Linked DNA regions of Homo sapiens: region 1 is linked to region 2. Evidence: promoter capture Hi-C in 16 types of primary human blood cells and fetal thymus (Javierre and others, 2016). All regions are on one chromosome and are shown on one strand. The core of a region is centred on a gene start or on the middle of the fragment in contact, and the rest is flanking DNA. Distances in the headings are between cores, read along the strand shown.

Region 1 (4,684 bases), core at 205-2,704, 3.2 Mb before region 2:
ACATTCCCTATTAAATATTTTTCCCCAGAGCAAAATGACTGCAAGAACCTGGGAAAATAATTGTATTTTTCAGTGACCTAATGCACTAAGCTTTGTATCATCTCCTCTCTGGATCTGCACAGCCAAATGCGATGTTCAAGAATTTTTTTCCTTAATAAGAGAGCTGGTGGCAGGGGGAGAAATAATGATTTTAATGAGAGGTAAGGAAAAGAAAAAGGCTGTGGTGCTTCTGAAATATGGATGACTCATAGATGCTTGGAAGCAGGACAAGGAAGAAGCAAATGCTATTTCTAATTTTGAAGACCTGGTATCTATTTTATTTATTTATTTATTTATTTATTGCCTCCTGATTATTTTGCCCAGAAGAATAGTTAGTTGCTCAAAAGAACTTGGCAGATTCATTGCTGTGTCTATACATATGGCCCCTTGTTGGGGAGAAGTAGGAGAATGATATCCACATGAAATGTGGGCTCCAGATGTACCAAAGACAGAGTTTCCCAGGTGAGAGAGTCTGGTTGAAGAGAGTTAGGTAAGATTGTGCGGTGCAATCATTTGGAATTAAAACATATATATTTAACAAGAATCATGAAGAGGGAGAAAAAAGATTCATTCAGAGAACCTGGAAGTTTCTCATTAACCAAGACATAGTGAAAGATCACACTTAACAAAAGAAACAGAAGAGGAGATAATTTATTAACACAAAATCCAGGGAGACACTGCATGAGCCTGAGTAGTGCTCACACATTTGGATAAACAAGGATTTTGACAGCACTCTCTGCATTCCTCTAACCTGGAAACTGCTTAGTGGCTCATCAACATGGCACTGCCCATGTTGCTGTGAAGATGCTTCTCTCTCCCTGTTTCTTGGGATTCTTGAGCCCCCATTTCTTTTAAGCTTGGGCGACCATCTTTTAGGGTTGAAATTGTACTTAATTTGCCACATTAGCTCTGTTGTGCAGTTTTTTGAAAAATTTATTATTAAAACGACTCAGAAAAATATTTTTAAAAACTAAATGTGAGATTACCCATAATCCTTGTACTATAAAACAATTACTTTCAATGCTCCATTTTCTCTTCTGAACAATGACCATATGCACACATATTCTTCAGAGTTCTAAACATAGGATATAACAAGTTTGCATTATGCTTTTAAAAGAACTTATTTTCTAACAAACTATTTTAATATTTCTAAAAATATTATTTTCTAAATATTATTTTATTTATTAACTTTAGTTGCCTAATACTATCACCTATTGTTTTTGTTATAATTGACTTGACTACTCCCAAACTGTGGTTGTTTAATTTTTTAAATATTATAATTTATGGTATATACGACAAATATTGCTACAATAAAAATTTTGTGTATAGTATTTTTTTTTCTTTTTTTGAGATGGCGTTTCACTGTGACTCCCAGGGCAGAATGTAGTGGAGCGATCTCAACTCACTGCAACCTCCGCCTTTCTGGTTCAAATGATTCTCCTGTTTCTGCCTCCCAAGTAGCTGGGACTAAAGGCATGTGCCACCACGCCTGGCTGATTTTTGTATTTTTTTAATAGAGATGGGGTTTCAGCATGTTGACCAGGCTGGTCTTGAACTCCTGACCTCAAGCGATCCACCTGCCTCGGCCTCCCAAAGTGCTGGGATTAAAGACGTGAGCCTCTGCACCTGGCCATGTATAGCATTTTAAAATATTTTTATTTCTTTGAGATATACATTGCAATGAGTGAGATTACCTGGTCAAAGGATACAACTGTTCTGATGACTTGTGATGTGTAAAATGACCCATAAAAAGGGTGAAAGCCATTCCCAATGCCACCAAAGATACTGCAATGCCTAGAAGGCTTCTATTTTTGCCAACTGTTTTATAATTATTCATTTTTCCTGTTTTAAATATTGTAATTTGTATTTATTGAATTAGCAAGCCTATTTTTCCATGTTTGTTTTACCTATCTCCTTTTGAATGAATCATATAATGACTTTTTTGCATATTTATTTATGCATATCAGACACAATGAAGCTTTTTTTTGAAAAACTGCTAACCCTTTTGCTAACATGTTATGTTTCTCCCTTTTTATGTTTTCTTTGTTTTGTTATATTTTATTATATAAAAGTTTGAAGTTTTACACAGCTATACTTATTTTGATTATTGTACATTTTTCTACTGTTTCAGGCATTAGAACATATTGATTATGGGGATAAATATTTTGTGTCCAGTGTTATATCTTTAAAAAATAGTGAACCCTTCAGTCCATTTTGAACTTCTGTGCCAAAGAGTGTAACTATGTTAATTTTTCTTCACTGAAACTCTTAATTTCATCTCAATATTTCAGAGACTCCTTAGTCAATAAAAAGCTACCTCCATATTAGAGTGACCTGCATTTCTTTGTAGTAATTTAGGTTTTTATTTAAAATCTTTAAAGGTTTTATTTAAAATATTGGTAATTTTTAAAAAACATTGTGAGAACAAACACCATGTAAAACCAGTAACAACGAAAGCAAACATTTGTAGGTCAGAGTTAGCCTGTGAGTAGTCAGACTGTCTTCTGATCTACACAGCTTTACTGCTACTACGGTGACCCTTCAGTGTTAGAATTTTTCATTATGAATCAGCTAATTCCTGATGATTCATGATTTATAGTTCACAGTCATTGGCTACTGGGGTAGGTACGGTAGTTGACACGGCAGCAGAGAAGTCCGGTCTGATTCTCAGTCTGGTGGCCTTGTTCCTCTACCATAATGACACTCTATTTATTTATTTATTTATTTATTTATTTATTTATTTATTTATTTATTTTTTTGAGATGGAATCTCGCTCTGTCACCCAGGCTGGAGTGCAGTGGTGTGATCTCAGCTCACTGCAACCTCTGTCTCCCTGGTTCAAGCAATTCTCCTGCCTCAGCCTTCCGAGTAGCTGGGATTACAGGCACGTGCCACCACGCCCAGCTAATTTTTGTATTTTTAGTAGAGATGGGGTTTCACCATGTTGGCCAGGATGGTCTCGATCTCCTGACCTCGTGATCTGCCCGCCTCGGCCTCCCAAAGTGCGGGGATTACAGGCATGAGCCACCGCGCCCGGCCAACACTCTTTTTAAAAACATCCGAGCCTCCTCCTGTTCAAAGTATTCAAAATAGATATAACACCATAGCAGACTAACTACCTACTCTATCTCTTAACAGAAAGAAAGAGTCAGTACTATAAGTAGAGAATGGAATTTATACTTTTTTTAAATAAAAAATTGTCTTCATTTAAAAAATTCATACTGTTCCTCAGACAGTGGCTTAGGAATTTGTAATTAACAAAAATGTCTGGAAGATATTTTTTCCTTGAGAATGTTTCTAAAGCATGAGAGAATATACACCAAAGCTAAATTGAATTTGCTGAGGCCATATTTTTTTCTCTGTTTCAAAAAGAGTGTCTAGTGGTCTGGGGATTGCAACATATGGTACAGAGCAGACATAATCCAATTAACATAGGATTCATAACAACATATTGTGACTGATCTCTATAGCCTCAGAGCATATTGGTTTGCGTTATCGGTTTAATCTAAATATTGTCACCTGTTTCTCAAGATGAGCCAAAGGTGGAACATGGCTTAAAACTGTCTCGTCTAACATATCTGTTTCATTGCAATGCATAGAACCAAAGAGGTGGAGGCTGCTTGTTCTTTGACAAGCAATTTACCTCTTTGGGCTTCAGTTTCATCATTTATGAAAACTGAGGCTTGATTTGATGACATGGTTAAGACTATAATAAATAATTTGTAACAGGTAGATATAGGAGCTATAAAAATAAGATAAATGCAGAGAGGTAGAAATAAAGCTCAGGATTTGGGGTCAGAAAGCCTGGTTCAAATCCATGCTTTGCCACTTACCAGCTGGGCGACTTTGGAGAAGATGCTAGATCTCTACATGGCATCATCTGTAATGCTGAAATAATGGCACCAGACTCACAGTGTTGTTATGATGATTAAATGATATGTATAACAAAGGTTATATCAAAAGTTATGGGACAATTGCTCAATAAATGTTTATTATCATCATCCCAAGAAACTGTATAGAACTAGATTTGTTGGCAACTGGCAATTAACTGACAGGAAAAACAAAGCATTCCGATTTGGGAATAAATGTGATTCTTTTAACCCAAATATCCAGTTAGATCTTTCAAGTGCTAAATCCAGATACAGGCTCTCAGTTCAAGGTCATTGCCACAAAGCCTTAGGTAACTATCTTGAGTAGATTTATTGAACAATTAGCTTGTAAATTCCAGCCACTCCAGAAACTGAAACACATTTCCTCTCTTTGTTAAATGTGAGCATGTAATCCAATATGTTTCAAGCCCTTGGTCATAATTTTAAAATTTCCATATTTTAATGTGCACATTGCAGGGTGTATAAATAATGCCTCTCTTTAATGACAATAATGTCCTCTTGGCTAGCATGACATGTGCTCACTTCCTCCATGTAAAATTCCTCCACAAAAAGTTAAATAGGTTGGGCTGGAATGAGAGATTTTGTTTTAAAAATTCTCCAGTTCTCAGGTCAGAAAGTCTGTTGTCCCCTCTGCAAATGAAGGAGTGGTGAGGACCTTGAAATTGTTCCCATTGTTTTCTCTCTGGGCTTGGACATGGGCTGTACACTAATGTCCAGTTAATTTTAGAGTGGGTGTAGCTAAGAACTAAGTAAGT
Region 2 (5,159 bases), core at 171-2,670:
TATAGCTAGATAGGAGGAATAAGTTCTAGTGCTCTATACCACTTCAGGATAACTATAGTTAATAATATATAGTTTCAAATTGCTAGGAGGATATTGAATGTTCTCAACACAAATGATAAGCCCCCGGGGGAGTGGCTTCTGTGAGACCTAAATCCTCATCTGCCACAGAAGGAAGGCAACACATACTCTCCATAACTGAAAATGCAAGAAATAGCAGAAAATGACTATTATTTAAAAATACGGGCCAGGCGCAGTGGCTCGTGCCTGTAATCCCAGCACTTAGGGAGGCTGAGCCGAGAGGATCACCTGAGGTCAGGAGTTCAAGACCAGCCTGCCCAACATGGTGAAACGCCGTCTCTACTAAAAATAGAAAAATTAGCCAGGTGTCGTGGCGTGCGCCTGTAATTCCAGCTACTCAGGAGGCTGAGGCAGGAGAATCTCTTGAAACCGGGAGGCGGAGGTTGCAGTGAGCCAAGATCATGCCACTGCACCCCAGCCTGAGCGACAGAGCAAGACTCTGTCTCAAAAAAATAAAAAACATACGGAAACAGGTATTAGAAGAACAGCTTAAAATGTTGAAGGTGGTTAGTCTGGGGACCAGTACTCTGGGACTGGGAGGACTAGACCAGAGGTCGGCTGTTTTGCTCTTAAGGCTTACAGAACGATCTAGTTTCAAACTATCTATGTTTAACTTCGACTTTTTCCTATCAGGCTCGGTGCTGCTATTCCACTGAGCTCATGGAAAATTAAATCTTTATTAGGAGCCTTCCAAGATCACAGTGGGGTGGCAATGGGGACAGATAATGCAGAAAAGCGAAGGCTCACTGGTCTACAAATACACGTCTATCACAACCTGTAAAAGTTAACCCTGTCCCAGCCTGGCCAATATGGTGAAACTCCGTCTCTACTAAAAAATACAAAAATTAGCGGGGCGTGGTGGCGGGCGCCTGTAGTCCCAGCTACTGGGGAGGCTGAAGCAGGAGAATGGCGTGAACCCGGGAGGCGGAGCTTGCAGTGAGGCGACATCGCGCCAGTGCACTCCAGCCTGGGCGACAGAGCAAGACTACGTCTCAAACAAAGAAACAAGTTAACCCTGTCAACATCTCGACTTTAAATGCAAAGCACTGCACATGCACACGCTGAACACCTCCCCTTCCTTCTCCAGGGGCAACACAAGCACAACCGCCGCACATTTACGAATCTACACAACTGCGCATCGGAGCGAATGAGGTCAGGGCCCAGAAAGGTGGGGCAGGAACGATCCCAGCCTTCAGCTAATTCTGTCACCTCTAACGTCTGGGGCAAGAACGTTTCAGGAAACCAAGGGGGACCGAGGCTCAGCGCCGAAGAGAAAGACGCCAACTGCGGGACCTGTCGCGCCTCCCGCGCCGGGGTGGAGCTGACCCCGCCGAGTCCCGCCCCTGCCTGAGTTCGCCAGTGGTCCAGGAGCCGCTTTTTTCCACTCGGGAAGACTTCAGAGAAGTCTCACAAAGGACTCGGCTGGCTGCTTTTCTCAGTGCCGAAGCCGCGCCATGCTCGTTCTCAGAAGCGGCCTGACCAAGGCGCTTGCCTCACGGACGCTCGCGCCTCAGGTACTGGCCGCGGGGGCGCGCCCGAGCCCTGGCCGGAGGGGAGGGGAGGGGCGGGGGGTATTTCTGAAGCGTGCGAGCCACGCTCAGGCGCTCCCAGACCTGGGGCCCCGCGCCGCCGCCGAAGTTCTAACGCGGTCTCTGGAGCCGTCTGGCGCGCAAGGAGGAGGCTACAGGCCGGGGTCGTCTCGCTGGCAGTCGCTGTCAGAGGGGTTTTCTAACTGGATGCCAGTGTTTTTGTGATTTTTGTTTTTGTTTTTGAGACGGAGTCTCGCTCTGTCGCCCAGGCTGGAGTGCAGTGGCGTAGTCTCGGCTCAGTGCAACCTCCGCCTCCCGGGTTCAAGCGATTCTCCTGCCTCATCCTCCGGAGTAGGTGGAATTACAGGCGCCAGCCACCACGCCCGGCTAATTTTTTTTGTGTTTACTATTTAGTAGAGTCGGGGGTTTCACCATGTTGGTCAGGCTGGTCTCGAACTCCTGACCTCGTGATCCGCCCACCTTGGCCTCCCAAAGTGCTGGATTGCAGGCATGAGCCACTGTGCCCAGCCTGATGCCAGCTGTTTCTAGCCTAAATGCCACAACTCCCGGGACACCCCCGTGGCGCCAGCTGTTGCGTTTTTTTAGGATAACATCTCCAGATACAAATCTCCGAAAATCAACTTTAAAAGCAGTTATTAGAAATACCTCATTGGCCCATTTTCCGAGATAATAATATTTTTAAACTGTAGATACTAAGCAGTTTTTTATTTTCAGAATTTGATTAAACTGACCCAAAAAGAATGGCCATCAAAAGAAAGGATAGTTGCAGGTATTTTTTGGTATGAAGAAGGGTTTTCTAAGAAAACTAAGACACTTGGGCAATAAGGGCATAACTCATACTGGAGATGAATGAACTCAAGATAGACAATTATAATTAAGACGTTATGCACACAAACTACATAGACATTTGCATGTTGTAACCAAAAATATGTCAGTGAAAGATGCCTACTGAAACTGTTGCGATAGATTATTCTGGGTAGTGAGCCTCAGGAAATTGTCACATGCTAACCATGCCTAAATGAATGGATTTGTAAACTAGAATGCCACGGGAGTGGTCTGTGTATACACGTGTGTTTACATAAATATTTGCATGTACGTACATACAGACAGACTGGATAATTTCTGACAGGGCATTTGCTACTGAACATTAAGCTCACTCAGGCTCAGAGGGCCAGATTAGGACAGAAAATTTACCCATTGGGCATATGACTATTACAAAGGGTGGTTCTTAAAGGATAGTTCCATAAACTTGGTATAATTGAGTGCACTAAATGTACATACTTCTTGATATTGCATCTGTAATTAGAAACAATGATGGAGACAATTCTCATTTGTTGAGTTTTTTTCCTTTTCAGCCTTTATGCAGTATACACCCATAGTACAATGCAATTGGATAAGTTATAGCTTCCTTTTATATTAGTTACATTCCAGTCCTGTTTTTGACCGGTAGTCTTCATCAGTAGATTCAGGAAATACTTTGACCTGAATAGCCCTTCCTGTTTTTTTAGGAACCTTTTAAAAACAAGAGTTTTTTGTTAGTAAACGTATTTTTGGGCCTGCCAAAAGGCATGTGTACTTAATAAATTTTTTTCAATGTGTGGAACTAATACATATGGTATTGAGTAAGATGGAATATTGGCTAAACAGGGGAAAACCCTTTGTAAATTAAAGAGACTAAGTCTTAAATGTAGTTCTTCGGTAAAGGAGTATCATTATGATCCCACAGCCTTCTTGTGAGCAAATTCTCGTGAAAAAATGGCTAGAGGTAGACCCCTGCTAGGAAACAGTTGCTATATATTCATCAGAATTAAGAGTAGTTATCTTTATTGACATCTCTATGTAAACAAGTGTATATGGAGAATTGACAACAAAAGTAAACAATGGATAATGAGTCTATGTGTGTTCCTTGTACCAGACTCAGATTTGGTTGTAACCAAATCTGTAATTGTACCTTCCCAAGATATTTACATTTGTCTTACCTCCTTCAGGTGTGTTCATCTTTTGCTACGGGCCCTAGACAATACGATGGAACGTTCTATGAATTTCGTACTTATTACCTTAAACCTTCAAATATGAATGCGTTCATGGAAAATCTTAAGAAAAACATTCATCTTCGGACCTCTTACTCTGAATTGGTTGGATTCTGGAGTGTAGAATTTGGAGGCAGAACGAATAAAGTGTTTCATATTTGGAAGTATGGTAAAGAGTCATCCAGTTTTAGTATTCAGTATAGATTTTCATTCTGTTAAATGTAACATAAGACTTAGTTCTTGGATCTATATTACCATAGATACATACAGGTTAAGTAAGACTTTTTAAAAGCAATACCAAAAAAATAAATTTAGCAGATCTTCTTCCCAGTGGTACACCTCTAACCACCCCTTGCTTGAACTCTTATGTTATCATAAATGAGAAAACATGCAGTCTCATATATCAAACCATAAAATTGTGAATTAGACTTTAATCCTCAGAAAAATGTTAGAATCGTTTGCTATAAAGATAGCTCATGAAAAATTTAAAGCAGTAATTGTAAATGTTCAAGTGGGTTAAGATCACCGTTGGGCCTGCCAAAAGACATGTATATTTAATAAAAATGTTTTAAATGTGTAACTAATGTATATGGTATTGACGAAGATGGAATACTGGCTAAATAAGGGAGAAAGCTTTGTAAATTTATGAGACTCCTAATTGCAGTTCTTGGGTAAAGGAGTGTCATTAGGATAAGATAATTTTTTTTTTCTTATTATTGTTACAGCTAGGGCTGGATATCAGCATTTTTGCAGAAATAATTCACCCATTTGGGAGCTTTATAAAAATGGAGGTTTTTAAAGGATGATAGTTAACTTTTAAGCGTCACCCAACTCTGAGATTTAATAATTCTGTTATGTTTAGAGACCACTTCTTTTTTCATTTCTGTACCCCAGAGTTTCAAGGAATTCTTTCATACTACCCTAGGGAGGTAAGGAAAAGGAATGAGAGACAGTCCTTCCCATATTGAAGCTGACCTACCCCTGGTTTAGTAGAGGAAAGAGAACAAGTAACAAGAATCCCCAGAATGTTTGTTACTTCCATGTCTGTTCTTAACAGTCCACATCAGGACTTGAGGATACCTAAAGAACTTTTAATAATTTCATTTACTGTTTAGTGATCAGTGTCCAAAGTTAATAGTCATAAAGTAATTTAATATGAAAAGTGTTCATTCTATGCTTGACGTAACTCTTTAGTTTTTCCCTGTTATAATAAAACAGACCCTATTAAAACATAATTTATGCTTTAGATAAACCACAAGTTGAAACATGTCCCATTGAAAAAACTGCTAATAAAGTGTTTATAATTCATTTATATGCTTTAGATAAACCACATATATAATCCACTTATGTGCGTTAGGTGAGCCACAAGTTTAATTGTGTCCCATTAAACTGCTCGTAAAGTCTTTACAATTCACTTGTAAGATAGGTGTTATTCCTTATCCTCAGCATAAATCATATAATTCATTTACTATTAGTCTTAGGAGGCCCTAAAAGTAAATAT

Evidence for each region. Contacts are between HindIII fragments. The CHiCAGO score rates a contact against its expected background, and 5 or more counts as called.
Region 1: a contact is called between a fragment that was not itself captured here and the fragment with the promoter of NIPSNAP3B in region 2, in 1 of 17 cell types (M1 macrophages). The highest score is 6.7, in M1 macrophages.

Annotation. Positions count from the first base shown.
Region 1 is chr9:101,587,602-101,592,285 of GRCh38, forward strand. All of the region lies in intron 6 of GRIN3A (glutamate ionotropic receptor NMDA type subunit 3A), which reads right to left. It overlaps PPP3R2 (protein phosphatase 3 regulatory subunit B, beta), which reads right to left. Exons shown (of 1, transcript NM_147180.4): 1 at 4,003-4,684. Among named protein-coding and RNA genes, the nearest start is that of PPP3R2, 5.0 kb to the right of the region's middle. The HindIII fragment of the contact is 1,122 bases long and covers 894-2,015 here.
Region 2 is chr9:104,762,709-104,767,867 of GRCh38, forward strand. NIPSNAP3B (nipsnap homolog 3B) reads left to right here and starts at 1,421. Exons shown (of 6, transcript NM_018376.4): 1 at 1,421-1,592; 2 at 3,617-3,827. The coding sequence starts at 1,533. RefSeq lists silencers at 1,150-1,349, 1,547-1,736. The HindIII fragment of the contact is 4,394 bases long and covers 1-4,289 here.